Regions from separate parts of the Homo sapiens genome. Here region 1 is linked to region 2. The links are contacts of gene promoters, found by promoter capture Hi-C in human tissues and cell types (Jung and others, 2019). All regions are on one chromosome and are shown on one strand. The core of a region is centred on a gene start or on the middle of the fragment in contact, and the rest is flanking DNA. Distances in the headings are between cores, read along the strand shown.

What was found. The method cuts DNA at HindIII sites, captures the fragments that hold promoters and counts their contacts. A contact is called where the count stands out against the background at its distance.
Region 1: a fragment that was not itself captured here is called in contact with the fragment with the promoter of KBTBD11 in region 2 in 1 of the 25 tissues and cell types used here (spleen).

The regions. Positions count from the first base shown.
Region 1 is chr8:1,740,033-1,742,820 of GRCh38, forward strand. It overlaps LOC105377778 (a long non-coding RNA gene), which reads right to left. Exons shown (of 4, transcript XR_007060784.1): 4 at 2,787-2,788. Among named protein-coding and RNA genes, the nearest start is that of CLN8, 22 kb to the right of the region's middle. The HindIII fragment of the contact is 5,059 bases long and covers 1-2,788 here.
Region 2 is chr8:1,972,393-1,975,135 of GRCh38, forward strand. It overlaps KBTBD11 (kelch repeat and BTB domain containing 11), which reads left to right and starts at 1,285. Exons shown (of 2, transcript NM_014867.3): 1 at 1,285-1,543. It overlaps KBTBD11-AS1 (KBTBD11 antisense RNA 1), which reads right to left and starts at 953. Exons shown (of 3, transcript NR_136275.1): 1 at 756-953; 2 at 148-271. The region is part of intron 2 of KBTBD11-OT1 (KBTBD11 overlapping transcript 1); the gene reads left to right. The HindIII fragment of the contact is 1,977 bases long and covers 1-1,539 here.

The DNA.
Region 1 (2,788 bases), core at 1-2,500, 230 kb before region 2:
CCATTACGCCCAGCTAATTTTTGTATTTTTAATAGAGGCGGGGTTTCACCAATGTTGGGAAGGCTGGTCTCGATCTCCTGACCTCAGGTGATCCGCCCCCCTCAACCTCCCAAAGTGCTAGGATTACAGGCATGAGCCACTGCGCCCGGCCAATTTCTAATATTTCGGAGGCCTCACCAGTCGCAGATGCTGGCACCATGCTCCCTGTGAAGGCTGCAGAGAGGTGAGCCAAACACACCTCTTTTCTTTATAAATTACTCAGCTTCAGGTAGTCCTTGATAGCAAAACAAATGGACTAAGACACTCATCCTAACTCAGACCCCAGCTTCCCCATGAAGCTGTCAGCAAGACAGCAGCTATGCTCCCCTCCTCCCTCCAGAGTCTGATGGCCTCAGTCCCAGCACGTAGTTCAACCTCCAACTTGACTCTGCCTACCTCATGCAAATGAGCCTATCTCTTTATTCTTCAGGATCCAAAATGGCAACTCCCTGAAGCCAGAGAACCCATCAGAACTTAAAAGTAGACAATTTTTTTAGAGCAGTTTTTGGCTCACAGTAAAATGCACAGAAGGTACAGACACCTGCCATTCGCTGCCTGTCCCCTCTCCCCTGCACGCATAGCCACCCCCCACCAGCAAGTGTGGTGCATTTGTTACCATTGGTGAACCCACATGGACACGTCTTCATTGCCTGGAGTCCGTGGTTTACACGAGGGCTCGCTCTAGGTGTTGTTCATCCTCTGGGTCTGCACAGATGTACACTGACTCTTATCCACCATGACAGTGCCATGCAGAGTAGCTTCACTGCCCTGAAGATCCTCTGTGCAGTGTAACTTCATCACCGTTAGGAAGAAAACAATCTCTTTTAACATCACGTGTGAATAAGACAGATGATGTCCCAGCCCACCATGGGGCTTCCCATTCTTGTGAGGTGGGAAGGGCAGGACAGAAAATAAACAGTCCACAAAGAGATAAAAATAATTATCATGTCATTTTTATGACATGATAGATCATTCTATCATGAATGTTTAAGATCATTCAATGAGTGAAATGCAAGGACATGAGCGAGTAAGAGAGGGAGGCAGGCCCGACAGGTAGTGGCGTCCCAGGTGGTAGCTCCTCCTCGGAGCCCAGCCAGAGTTGAGACCTGAAGGATGAGGAGGACTTGGTCCTTGGACAATAGAAGAAATAAAGACCCAGGTAGAGAGGCAAAAGCAAATGTGAAGGCCCAGAAGCTTGAAAAGGCTGAGCCTGTCCTGGGAGTTATCAGAGGCACAGTCTGATCAGAGTGGAGTCAATAAGGAGTGGTGGTGAGACCCACGTTGGGTAAGGACAGAGACGTCCCATGCTTGACTCCTTGGACATGTGACCTCAGCTTCCTTAGCTGTAAAACGTGACAGGTGGCCAGGCGCGTTGGCTCATGCCTGTAATCCCAGCACTTTCGGGAGGCCGAGGCGGGTGGATCACGAGGTCAGGAGATCAAGACCATCCTGTCTAACACTGTGAAACCCCGTCTCTACTAAAAATTCAAAAAATTAGCCAGGCGTGGTGGCACGCAGCTGTAGTCCCAGCTACTAGGGAGGCTGAGGCAGGAGAATCGCTTGAACCCGAGAGGCGGAGCTTGCAATGAGCAGAGATCACACCACTGCACTCCAGCCTGGGCAAGAAAGCGAGACTCCGTCTCAAAAAAAAACAAAACAACAACAACAAAAAACACAAAACAAAATATGACAGGTGCCACTTGCTGTTGTGGAGGACATCCAGATGCTGTGAGTGATAAAGAAATGCGTGATGGCAGAATCTTTGTTTCCAAGAGTTTATAATTTGGTGGAAATAAAGTGGAGAAGCAGGAAGACCTACACAGTGGACTGGCAGAGCAGCAGAGTCCCTTGACCGTGCTGCAGGGCATTTCAAAGAGGACGGCAACGGGAGGTAAAAGAGGACGGCGAGGGGAGGAGGTGTCTGCTCCCAGGGAAACCTCCCCTGGGTGTTTGGCGATGTCTTCCCCACGTTCACATGATAACCTTTATCTGTCATGAGCAGGTGAAGGTTCAGATAAACACACAAACAGTGATCCTGTCAACATTCTTGTGCATGACCTTGTGTGCAATATGTTTGCATTTCTGCTGGTCGTGGGGAATCACAGTGTCGCCATGGAAGCTTCAGTTCAGTTTCAGTGGTTATTGGTCCAGGGTCAATGCAAAAATGTTACTTCCCCCCAGGGGTGCGCAAGTGAGTTCAGTTTCCACACAGTAGTGTGTGAGTGAGTTCAGGCCCCGCCGTGGTGTGTGAGTTCAGTCCCCTCAGTGCTGTGTGAGTGAGTTCAGTCCCCCCATGGTGTGTGAGTGAGTTCAGTTCTCCTCAGCAGTGTGTGAGTTCAGTTCCCACCAACAGTGTCTGAGTTCAGTTTCTCTGTATCCACACTGATTCCTGCTCCTCTTTCCTGACTTTGCTGTCCTGGCGGCTATGTAGTGATATCTCACTGTGGTTGTAAGCAGCAGCCACTGATGAATAACACAGGGGAGCATCCGTTGAGTAGCCATTTTGATCTTTTCTTTGGTACAGTGCTTGTTCAGGTCTTTTGCCCATTTCTCTATTTAAATCGCTTGTTTTTTCTAATTGATTTGTAGGAATTTCTTGCATGCTCTAAACTCAGGGGTCAAGGCTGTGGTCTGGTGTTGGTGTGGGTGTTGCACTCCTGCTGTCCCAGTCCCAGGTACTTGGGAGGCTGAGATAGGAGGATCGCTTGAGCCTGGGACGTCAGGGCTGCAGTGAGCCGAGGTTGCACCA
Region 2 (2,743 bases), core at 35-2,534:
TGGCTCATGCCTGTAATCCCAGCACTTTGGGAGGCCAAGACAGGTGGATCACTTGAGGTCAGGAGATCGAGACCAGCCTGGCCAATGTACAGTGAAACCCTGTCTCTACTAAAAATACAAAATTTAGCTGGGTGTGGTGGTGCATGCCTGTAGTCACAGCTACTTGGGAGGCTGAGGCAGGAGAATTGCTTGAACCCAGGACGCAGAGATCGCAGTGAGCCGAGATTGCACCACTGCATTCCAGCCTGGGCGACAGAGTGAGACTCCATCTCTAAAAAAAAACAAAAGAGAAAAAGAAGTATTATTCTGCAGCCGAAAGGAAGTAGAGATGCACTAAGAAGATCACAGTAGAGTTTGGAACATTTTTGGAGTAAACTGAACAAAATAAAAACGGAGCAGCATGGGAATTATTTTAGCTTCCACCAAAAGGGTCTGTTTCTGCTATAGTTAACGGAAGTTTTCAATTTTCAAAAAATCCCAGTAGCTCGCTGAGTTTCAGCCTCCTGTAATTCAAGTACTGACAGCAGGTACTACTCTTCTTGGCAACAGAGTGAAAAAGGTTTTAAAGATGTTCCCGGGGCGTTAGCTTTGGTGCTGGAGTTGTAACGGCTCATTATGTGTATACAGCATGGAACTGGCAAAGACTGTCACAAGCAAAAAGAACACAAAAAGAGAAAGTAAAGGCTCTGGCTCTCGGTACTTATGGAAATCTCATCGTCATTAATTTGCACAAAGCCATTAAAAATAGCATTTACCAGCAGGGGTCCAGCGTTAATTAGAACCCAGCCTGGGAGCAGCTGGAACTCTCGGCGCTCCTGGCTCAGTCCTCGCCGCCCTGAACCCGTCTGCACCGCAGGGCCCGAGTGGGAGGCAGAGGCCACATTTCTGGATATGAGCAAAAGCTCCGACATTTCGTCCACTCTCGTGTTGTGAACTTTAAAAAATTCTGGAATCTGTTGAGAATTTGGCAATAAGTTTTTAACCACTAAATATGTCAACAACGCATCGCCTCTACTTTTACCAAAAAATAGGCGCACGAAACTCCGCTGTTTGCGCCCGCGGACACCTGTCCCCGCCTCCTCGCAGGAAGCGGCCCCCGCGCGTGGGCGCGGGCTCGGGCTCGGGCTCGAGTGGCGACGTGGGCCGCGGTCCTGGAGGGGGAGAAGCGCCCGGCGGGCAGGCGCGGGGCAGGGAAGCCCCGGGGAACCCACAGCCCCTCCGCAGACCCAGCCAGGGGGCGCGCGCCCGAAAACGCCCCGTGTGCACGCGCCCGCCCCCCTCCCCGCGCCCCGCGCGCGCCCCTCGCAGCCTGGAGCCGGAGCGCTGGCTCCGCGCGGCCTGGAGAGGCGGAGAGGCCTGTCCACCGCCCCCTCTGCCGCCCACGCCCCGCTGCGGGTCGGAGGAGCAGCTCCCGCTCGCAGGTGCTCGGAGAGGCCGGGCCGCGGCTCCCACAGGTGCCGGGAAGCGGCCGCGCGCATGCGCCGGAGCCCACCCGCCTGGCTGCGCGTCCCGGGCCCGGCGGCTGAAGAGGAGCCGCGGCGAGGTAGGGCGGACCCCGGGGAGGCAGCGGCGGGGCCTGGCGGGCGGAGCGGGAAGCAGCCCGAGGCGCGGGTCGGAGGGGGCGGCGGGTGGGAGGTGGTCGGCGAGAGCGGCAGTAGGCGGGAGGGGAGAAAAGGGGAGGCCGGCAGGGGAGAGGCGGGGAGGGGAGGCCGGCAGGGGAGGGAGGGGAGCGGAGCGGAGGGGAGGGGAGGGGGGACCGGGAGAGGAGGGGGCAGCGCTGCCCGCGGCGGGGTGGGCGGCGGTGGGTGGTCTCCGCTCCGCCTCCGGGAGGCCGCGTGGGGGGCGTGGGGGCCTCCTCGCGGGGTCTCCACAGGCCCTCCCCCGGGACGCGGCAACCCCGGCCGGAAGACAATGAGCCGCCCGCGCCGCGCCCGCAGTCACCGCCCCCGCCGAGGGTCCCGCCGCCCCAGCCGGCACGGAAGCAGGAGCAGAAGCCGAAGCCAAGCGCGCGGGGCCAGGGCGGGGGCTCCTCCCGGGGTTGCTCCGCTTGGCTCTCGGCGGTCGCGGGGATCGGCTGTCCGGAGCGAACGGGGGTCTCTCCTGGACTCGGGGCCCTGGGGAGGGGAGCGCGGCCCTTGGTCCTCCGCCGCTGCGCCCGGGGTGCGGGGGTGTCCTGGCTGCTGACCCCCGCGAGCCCCGAGCACCGCGACCCACCCGCCCCACCGCGCCGCGGCTCCCGAGTCCTGCCGGGCGCCCCTTGCAGCCCCCGCCCCATGTGCTGGGGAGACCCCCGGGCGGTCTGGGCGGGATTCCGCAGGGGTCCCTCCTCTCAGGCGGGGCTCATTCTGGAGCATGAAAAGAGGGTGAACCAAAGTCCCTCCACCTCTTTAGAGTCCTACAAAACCACGTTTCCCCCTCCACCCACTCCAGTGTCTATTCTAAGGAAAAGAAAAGGAACAAATCAGTGCAGCGAGCTTTATTCTACTCAGCCCACGAAAGGCGCCGCCGTCAGATTTTAAAGTTCCAGCCATCCCCTCAGGCCCTGAGTGAGAAGTTCGCCCGATTCCCCGCGGTTCCCGCCTCCATTTCCCACTAAGGAGCAGTTACTCAGGCTCCAATTAGGACCCCTTAATGGATGTCAATGGAACCCTTCAGCCTTTTATCCTGAGCTAATAGTGTGCTATTATTAGAATAATCCTCCCCATTCCTGACATCACGGAAGGGAGCGTTCCATTGCCTTCAG